3 separate regions of the Homo sapiens genome follow, and regions 1 and 2 are each linked to region 3. The links are contacts of gene promoters, found by promoter capture Hi-C in human tissues and cell types (Jung and others, 2019). All regions are on one chromosome and are shown on one strand. The core of a region is centred on a gene start or on the middle of the fragment in contact, and the rest is flanking DNA. Distances in the headings are between cores, read along the strand shown.

What was found. The method cuts DNA at HindIII sites, captures the fragments that hold promoters and counts their contacts. A contact is called where the count stands out against the background at its distance.
Region 1: the fragment with the promoter of GMIP here is called in contact with the fragment with the promoter of TSSK6 in region 3 in 8 of the 25 tissues and cell types used here (IMR-90 fibroblasts, adrenal gland, aorta and 5 more).
Region 2: a contact is called between a fragment that was not itself captured here and the fragment with the promoter of TSSK6 in region 3, in 3 of the 25 tissues and cell types used here (heart left ventricle, heart right ventricle and spleen).

What each region holds. Positions count from the first base shown.
Region 1 is chr19:19,642,098-19,645,025 of GRCh38, reverse strand. GMIP (GEM interacting protein) reads left to right here and starts at 1,369. Exons shown (of 21, transcript NM_016573.4): 1 at 1,369-1,515; 2 at 2,407-2,491. The coding sequence starts at 1,497. RefSeq lists a silencer at 1,276-1,525 and enhancers at 2,156-2,315, 1,537-2,492. The HindIII fragment of the contact is 23,421 bases long and covers 1-2,928 here.
Region 2 is chr19:19,342,973-19,345,472 of GRCh38, reverse strand. MAU2 (MAU2 sister chromatid cohesion factor) reads right to left here. Exons shown (of 19, transcript NM_015329.4): 10 at 1,533-1,636; 11 at 547-624; 12 at 104-169. Among named protein-coding and RNA genes, the nearest start is that of MAU2, 23 kb to the right of the region's middle. The HindIII fragment of the contact is 8,189 bases long and covers 1-2,500 here.
Region 3 is chr19:19,514,259-19,517,159 of GRCh38, reverse strand. It overlaps TSSK6 (testis specific serine kinase 6), which reads left to right and starts at 1,612. Exons shown (of 1, transcript NM_032037.4): 1 at 1,612-2,901. The coding sequence starts at 1,733. The coding sequence ends at 2,554. It overlaps NDUFA13 (NADH:ubiquinone oxidoreductase subunit A13), which reads right to left and starts at 935. Exons shown (of 5, transcript NM_015965.7): 1 at 828-935. The coding sequence starts at 921. RefSeq lists an enhancer at 757-1,036 and a silencer at 1,247-1,366. The HindIII fragment of the contact is 21,153 bases long and covers 1-2,901 here.

The DNA of each region.
Region 1 (2,928 bases), core at 120-2,619, 130 kb before region 3:
TTTTCTAGTTTAACAAGCACCCCCATATTTCTGAGGTCTCTTTCACATTTTAACAACTCAGGTGCTGAGAGAAGCCTTAGGATGTGTGATATTTTTTTCTTTCCCATAATACATAACAGCATGCCTTTCTCTCGGGTGGTGTCTGAGACTTGAGGAATATGATCTGCATCATTACAAGTATTGACTCTGTCCGGTGGCTCAAGCCTGTAATCCCAGCACTTTGGGAGGCCAAGGCGGGCCCATCACAAGGTCAGGAGATCGAGACCATCCTGGCTAACACAGTGAAACCCCATCTCTACTAAAAATACAAAAAATTAGCCAGGCATGGTGGCGAGTGCCTGTAGTCCCAGTTACTCGGGAGGCTGAGGCAGGAGAATGGCGTGAACCCAGGAGGTGGAGCTTGCAGTGAGCCGAGATAACGCCACTGCACTCCAGCCTGGGCAACAGAGCGAGACTCCAACTCAAAAGAAAAACAAACAAGTACTGACTCTGTCATGCTCTTTGGGGGCCTGCGCTGCTCTACCATCTCATGTCACAGTCAGGGAGCTCTGGCTGAGCATCAGCCAGGATGTGACCTGGAAACCTGGCTTGGCTCTTAGGTTGATAGTGTTATTCCTTTCAATGGACTCACTCATCACAACTCAAGAACTGCAGAGTAGGCAGCACGGAGCCAGTCAGAGAATCCTTGCCTCCTTAACAGCCAAAGCCTTTGGACACAAAGTTATAAACATACTTTAAAGTCTATTTCCAGCCCCAAAATTCCACTGTGCTGGGGGTGGGAGCATTTTTATAACAGGCGGCTTGTGGCAACCCCAGAGCTGGTGCTTTTGGACAAACCTCCACTCCCTACCTAAAAGGGCTGCTCCCTGGTGTGCTGTAATTGGGGCCTTGAGCCTGATCCAGCTTTGAGGGTCACGGAAGGGGCGTCCCCCAGGCCAGGGGTTCTCCAGCCCGAGTATTAGAATTTTGGTTGGAATCGGACAGAATATCAGGCCTCCACCAGGGGGCGCCATGGCTCCAGCGAGGCCCAGGTGGTTTCAGGGCTCCGAGAGACAACCTGGGCAAGGGGATCACCAGGGTCGCGGGTTGTGGGAGCTCCTGGGAGAGGCCCCCCGGGACAGGTGGACTCTGCAACCATTCAGGGAGGAGGGGGCTGGGGCTCCGTGGGATTTGGGGTAGCACAAAGATCTGAGAGGGAACCTATGGCCCAGATGAAGTCTTAGGATGCCCAGGTCAGGGGCACTGCAGCCTCGAGTGGTCGCTCAGGGGGCCCTGGCCCGACCCAGTTTCAAGCGGCTCAGGTAGAGAAGGGCACTATCAAGGCTTCCGGGCTACGGGGGCGTGGTCTGATGCGGGGGCGTGGCCTCCGCTGGGCAGGGCGACGCGGAACCGAGGCGGCGGCGGCGGCTGCGGCGGCAGGAAATCGGGGCTCGGCCCCGCCGGCGCGCGACCCCATCCCCATCCCGGTCCCTGCAGAGCGATCCCCGGGCCCAGATATGGACGCAGCAGAGCCGGGTAGGGGGTCGGGGATCCGGGAGGGGCCTCCCCCGACCATCCCCTGCTTCCTACATTGAGGGCACACACTTGTCCCGCTCCGTCCTGAGAGCCAGGAGAGGAGTTCCTGAATGGGAAGGACCCAGGGATCCTCCATTGTGGGGAGCCCTGTGCCCGGATGGGTTCAGGACCCCAGCCCTTCACTCCCCCTCCCCCTTTTGATCCCTCACCCCAGACGCCTGGGGGAGGGGGCCCAGGAAGGGGAAGTGACTGCTTCTGCTTCTGATTTTTGTGATGGGGGCAGGGTGCCACGACTGCTGAGGGAGAGGGCAACGCGGTAGGATCCCCACAGGGCCCCTCTGTAGCCCTGGGGAGTCGGCAGTGCTGGTCTAGGCCCCTTAGGAGAGGGGGCAGGGGGGCAGCAGTAGAAATGTGGCGGGGTCCGACTTGGTGTTTCCGGCCGTCTTTGTGTCTGTGTTGTGTATGTGGAGTGTCATTCGGTCTTTATGTCCCTCACGGCTTCAGTCTCTCCATGTGTGTTTCTGCCCCAGGCTCTGCCTGGCTGTCCCTTGTGTATTTCCATCTGTCTAGCCCGTGGTTCCATTGTCAGACCGGCTTTCTTCTCGGGACAGCCTGGTTGCATCTGGGGCATCTGTTTTGTTGGTTTGCTTCTGGGTGCAGGCAGACCCAGGGAGTGGGTGTCTCTGTTCCCCGAGCAGCTGTCTCTGGTCTCTGGTGGTGTGTGAGTCCATCTGCCTGCCTCGAGTTGGCCCCAACCAAGCCCCCCCCAGCCCTCTCTTTCTCTCTCTCACTCTTCCCTTTCTCTTCCACCCCCTCCAAATGAGACTGGTTGAGGTGCCGTGGGTGGAGGGAGGCAGTGGTTAGCCCATGTATTACACTCCCCTCCCCTAGGACTCCCCCCAGGTCCTGAGGGCAGGAAGAGGTACAGTGACATCTTCCGGAGCCTGGACAACCTCGAAATCTCACTGGGGAACGTGTGAGTCTGAGCCTGGATCACCCCCAAATCCTGCCAAGATGCCCCAAGCCCCTAACCATTTAGGTGCCTTGCAGTCCCATTTGGAACCTGTAACATCTGGACCTACATACCTAATAACCAGAGAAGTCTAGGATGGGACCCTCCAAAATGCCTCGGTATCCTAAAAGTGTCCCCCTAAATAGACTGGAAATCCCCAAAGTGGTCCTAGAACCCCTACATATCCTTGTAACCCCTTAAAATATTTGCGATCCCTATAATCCCACTCTATGAACCTCAAAGTTATCTGGGGCCCTTCAGATGCTTTTTCAAGTCCTATTTAAAAAAAACTCACCTGATTCCCCCAAAACACCATTCTTCAGACCTCCCAGACACAAGAGATGCCACAGAGGTGATGTTTGCCACAAACAACCCTAAGGTCCCCAGCACCCCTTGGCAGG
Region 2 (2,500 bases), core at 1-2,500, 170 kb after region 3:
CATAGCTGACCTAGCGCGACTGCTGTCCTCATCACAGACCACGCCCGACTCCTTACTCAGAAGTGTGGCCCGCCCCGAGCAGCAAGGAGGGCCGGCACCTTACCCGCAGGGCCGTGGTGAACTGGGCTTCCGCGTTGTCCATGCAGTTGACAGAGACACAGTACAGGCCCTGGAAGAAGGTGGTGTTGTCATCAGGGCCGGCCCCTGGGGAGGGGGCTCAGATCAGAGACACGTGGTGTGCCCGGGGCCTGCACGGCTGCCCTGGAGGAGTATGACAATGGCTCTACCGAGCCAGCTGCAAGGCAGGTAATATGCTCACTGTCCCCACCTTTCAGACCCAAGCCAATGTGGGGTGGGACAAGATGCTCACTGGGAGCATTCCGGATCGTGCCTGGGAAGGTTATATGATTACCTATGGGAACATTCCGGATTCTGATTAGGGTGCTGTCAGGGGGTCCTTCACTGGGAATGTTCTGGATCTGGTTAGGTACTTACTTACTGAGAACATTCTGGATTCTCCCGGGGTGTTGTCACAGGGTTACTCACCAGCAATGTGTGCAGCTGTGCTGCATGGTTGGAGAAGAGCCGGGGGGACTGCTGGCACAGCTGGCAGACCTGGGAGATCTGCCGGGAGAGAGTGTACTGCCATCACAGGACTGCAACCTGGGACCTGGCGTCTGAGCAGCAATGGAGAGACCCCATAGCTGGTGGGTGAGCCCATGTCCTGTCTGACCAAACTGGGGTACAAAGCCCCAGCAGACACGTCCACCATGAGGGCAAAGGGCAGCCCAGATCCCATCGTGGACAGGGACCCTTGTCTGTTACTCGTCTCTTCCACTCTGTCCAACAGGTGTCTGGGTTGTAAAGGACCTCCAGCCTACTGAGGGCCCCCATGCCCTCTCAGGAGGGTGGGTACTGGGGGTAGAGTGTTCCTAATGGCAGGGTGGGGTATAACAATCACTGTCAAAGGACCCCCCAAATCCCCAGAGACCATGTGCGCTATCCCCTTGGTGTGCAAGCTTTTGGGCCATGGCCCATTAGTTTTTTGGGTTTTTTTTTTTGAGATGGAGTCTCACTCTGTTGCCCAGGTTGGAGTGCAGTAGTGCGATCTCGGCTCACTGCAACCTCTGCCTCCTGGGTTCAGGCTATTCTCCTGCCTCAGCCTCTCAAGTAACTGGGATTACAGGTGTCTGCCACCACACCTGGCTAATTTTTATATTTTTAGTAGAGGCGGGGTTTCGCCATGTTGGCCAGGCTGGTCTCAAACTCCTGGCCTCAAGTGATCCACCCGCCTCGGCCTCCCAAACTGCTGGGATGACAGGCGTGAGCCACTGCGCCCGGCCTCCACTGGTTTTTGTATGAGATTCTCTGATCAGTGGTGCCCATGCAGGGCTGTAAAACGCTGGCCGACAGCGAGACAGCAGGATGGGCTGGCCTGCCAGTATGCACTTGGCGAATTCAGTCTCTTGTCTGACACTGCTGAGACCCAACAAACTCCTGGGCCTTCCCGCCCCTCCTGCTTCCAGCCTTACCTCCTGCAGCGCCGTGGCCTTGTGACCCGTGACAAGGCGGCACATGATGATGTGCTCCAGCAGGATCACTTGGAAGGATGACAGGATGGGGCTGCAGTCCAGCACTATGGGTGAGAGTCAGGGGTAAGCATGCAGGGGAGGCCAGAGGAGGCGCCACCCCCAGCCCACCGTGCCCCCACCTCGTTCCTGTCTCCTGCCACACTGGCTAGGCACCCACCCCGTCATCTCCCCTAGTCCCCACTGCACCCTCTGAGTGAAGGAGTGTGTCTTGCTGTCCAGGTGGGGAGACGGAGCTGGAGCCAGAGGTTGGTTCCCACAGTGCTCCAAGAAGGGTTGGCTCTCACCCTCACCCTCACCCTACGTGCTCAAGAGCTTGTGGACATGGCAGGTTCTAGAAATGTAGAAATGTGGAAACCACCCTGGATCATGACACCATGCAGCAGAGCCTCAGGCAGTCGGGTAGGGGGACCTGGGCTGGGCCCCACCTCCCAACAGCCCCAAGCAACCATCCTCATATGGGAATAAGAGAAGCACAGGGCCTATCCGGCTTTGGGCTGCCTTGGCTCTGATGCCTTCTCCCCCAGCAGCACTCACGAGGGAGCAAACAGACCGACTAATGGGCACACTATACCAGCCAGGGACGTCTGCTCTGGGTTTGTGCTAGTCAAAGGTCCCTGGATGGATTAGACACTTGAGCATCTGGAAAGAACTCACGACCTCCAAAGGACATGCTGGTGGTCAGTGAGGGCTGAGTTCTGATCCTGGCCTCATCCCGAGTGTCCCTGTCACAACACTGATAATAATTGGGAAAAGCAGCTACCACCTGTTTCAACTGAGCATGACTGGGCACAAGGGACCTGACCAGTCAGGGAGGTACCCCCGACCCCAGGCCTGTCTGCTCTGCTCTGACGTTGGACACCAGCATTTATCAACTAGGGGTGACGAGACCCACCAGGCAGGGTGGCTGG
Region 3 (2,901 bases), core at 363-2,862:
TTCTCTTTTTCAATTTTCTGTGCTGAGCCCGATAACAAAATTTAACGTGTTACTTAAACATTTGAAAACTTTACGCCGGGCATGGTGGCTCACGCCTGTAATCCCAGCACTTTGGGAGGCCGAGGTGGGCGGATCATCCGAGGTTGGGAGTTCGAGACCACCCTGACCAACATGGAGAAACCCCGTCTCTACTAAAAACACAAAGTTAGCCAGGCGTTGTGGCACATGCCTGTAATCCCAGCTACTCAGGAGGCTGAGGCAAGAGAATCGCTTGAACCCAGGAGGCGGAGGTTGCGGTGAGCCGAGATGGCGCCATTGCACTCCAGCCTGGGCAACAAGAGCAAAACTCCGTCTCAAAAAAAAAAAATTGAAAATTTAAAGAATATGGATTCCTGTGACACCATGCAGGCGGGGGCTGCCAGCAGGGAACCACTGCATAGAACATCTTGTAAATTCCCTCCAGGTTCCGGGTTGCGGCCTCAGCTTTGCCTTGGGGAGCCGCGGCCTTCTTTGGGCCTCAGTTTCCCCATCTTAGAAATCCAAGGGTGGCTGAGGGCCAGAGCACAGGCTATGACTCAGTTTAACCCACTGTAAAACGTAAATAACTAGAGGGACCGATTTCCTGGGCTGTTACGAGAAGGAAGAGGAGCTGGGAAAGACCTCAACAAACTGCAGCACTTAGCGTTATTACAGAAGCTATGATGGATCCCCGGGCTCCGCCTCCGGTCACACCGCCGGGAAAACTGAGGCCCGCCTGTGTCCCCGGAACCCCGCCCCCGAGCCCCGAGTGCCCAGACTCTGAGACCCCGGCGCAGAGTGATACTGACCCGACAGTCCTCGACGCGGCAAGTTCCGTTTGTAGTCGATGGGCCCATAGCCCCCCGGCGGAGGCATGTCCTGCTTCACCTTTGACGCCGCCATACTCGCAGTATCCCACACTTCCGGTCCCGGGCGGAAGTGACTTACTGCCACCGCCATGATGAGTGTGGCGGAAGCACTTGAGATGGTCCGCGGCACGGCTAGGAAGTCCCGGACAGTAGTGTAACTATCCGACCGCGCGGGAAAGCTCTGGCGGCGGACCCTGGGTAGGAATGCGCTGCCGGGCTGCAGCTGAGGGGTCTTTACTCCTCTTTTGCCCAGACAGGGCGTGACTCGCCTTGGTTCTTGCATTATAGGCCCTCGCGTTCACCTTGCCTCTGGGGTGTTGCGCAGGCCAGTCAGAAACTCCGAGCTCTCAAAGGAGCCAGGTGCCCCAGTTAAGGCCCCTTTTCCCGTTTTCGCCCCGTCTAGGGACTCTACGCGAAGCCCAGGGCTCCACGTAGTCACGGGCTGGGTACATGATGTTGGGGGGCAGCTGCTGCTCGAAGTCGGACTCACCCCAATCCCTGGAACGGATTCTGCTCCCTGGTGGTGATGGGTATCCCTTGCTAGTGGCCTCTCATCGGAAACTGACCATTCAGGATGATTATGAGTCACAAAGCAGGGAGGCTAGGGTGGCCCCGGGGCGGGGTCCCGGACCCCCACCCTAAGGCGGAGTGACGCCCGCAGTCACTTCACAAGGCAAAAATTGTTACGGGGCAATAAAAGGCACAACAGCGGCCAATGTCTGGCAGTGGGCACATGGGGGTGCGGGGGTGTAGGTGCCAAGCGCCATGGCTTAGACCCGAGATTGGAGTCCGGCCGCCCCCCGACAGCAGCCGCCTCCTGCCCCCCGTGCGCCCTAGGCGCCACCATGTCGGGAGACAAACTTCTGAGCGAACTCGGTTATAAGCTGGGCCGCACAATTGGAGAGGGCAGCTACTCCAAGGTGAAGGTGGCCACATCCAAGAAGTACAAGGGTACCGTGGCCATCAAGGTGGTGGACCGGCGGCGAGCGCCCCCGGACTTCGTCAACAAGTTCCTGCCGCGAGAGCTGTCCATCCTGCGGGGCGTGCGACACCCGCACATCGTGCACGTCTTCGAGTTCATCGAGGTGTGCAACGGGAAACTGTACATCGTGATGGAAGCGGCCGCCACCGACCTGCTGCAAGCCGTGCAGCGCAACGGGCGCATCCCCGGAGTTCAGGCGCGCGACCTCTTTGCGCAGATCGCCGGCGCCGTGCGCTACCTGCACGATCATCACCTGGTGCACCGCGACCTCAAGTGCGAAAACGTGCTGCTGAGCCCGGACGAGCGCCGCGTCAAGCTCACCGACTTCGGCTTCGGCCGCCAGGCCCATGGCTACCCAGACCTGAGCACCACCTACTGCGGCTCAGCCGCCTACGCGTCACCCGAGGTGCTCCTGGGCATCCCCTACGACCCCAAGAAGTACGATGTGTGGAGCATGGGCGTCGTGCTCTACGTCATGGTCACCGGGTGCATGCCCTTCGACGACTCGGACATCGCCGGCCTGCCCCGGCGCCAGAAACGCGGCGTGCTCTATCCCGAAGGCCTCGAGCTGTCCGAGCGCTGCAAGGCCCTGATCGCCGAGCTGCTGCAGTTCAGCCCGTCCGCCAGGCCCTCCGCGGGCCAGGTAGCGCGCAACTGCTGGCTGCGCGCCGGGGACTCCGGCTAGAAGCCGGGTGGTTCCAGCCATTCCTGCAGCCAAGGGCACTGGGCCAGGGCGGCGCACGCGCAAGAGGCGCGCTTCGAGGGAATATGCGAAGCTGCCGCGTGCTGCTGCACATGCGCTTTTTCCCTTCCGCTTCCCTCCCTTTCTTCCCACGGGGGAGTCCGCAGTTGCCCTTGTTCGGAATCCACGTTCCCCGCGATCCCGGGAGCTGGAGGCGCATGCGCATCCGCGATTCCCTGCGACCAGGCCCCGAGAGGGCGAGACCAGAGGGGACGGAAGCATTGCGCCTGCGCGGAACTCTCAGCCTCTGCGCGGAGGGCGTCCCTTCCCAACCAGCCGTGGGTGCCAGG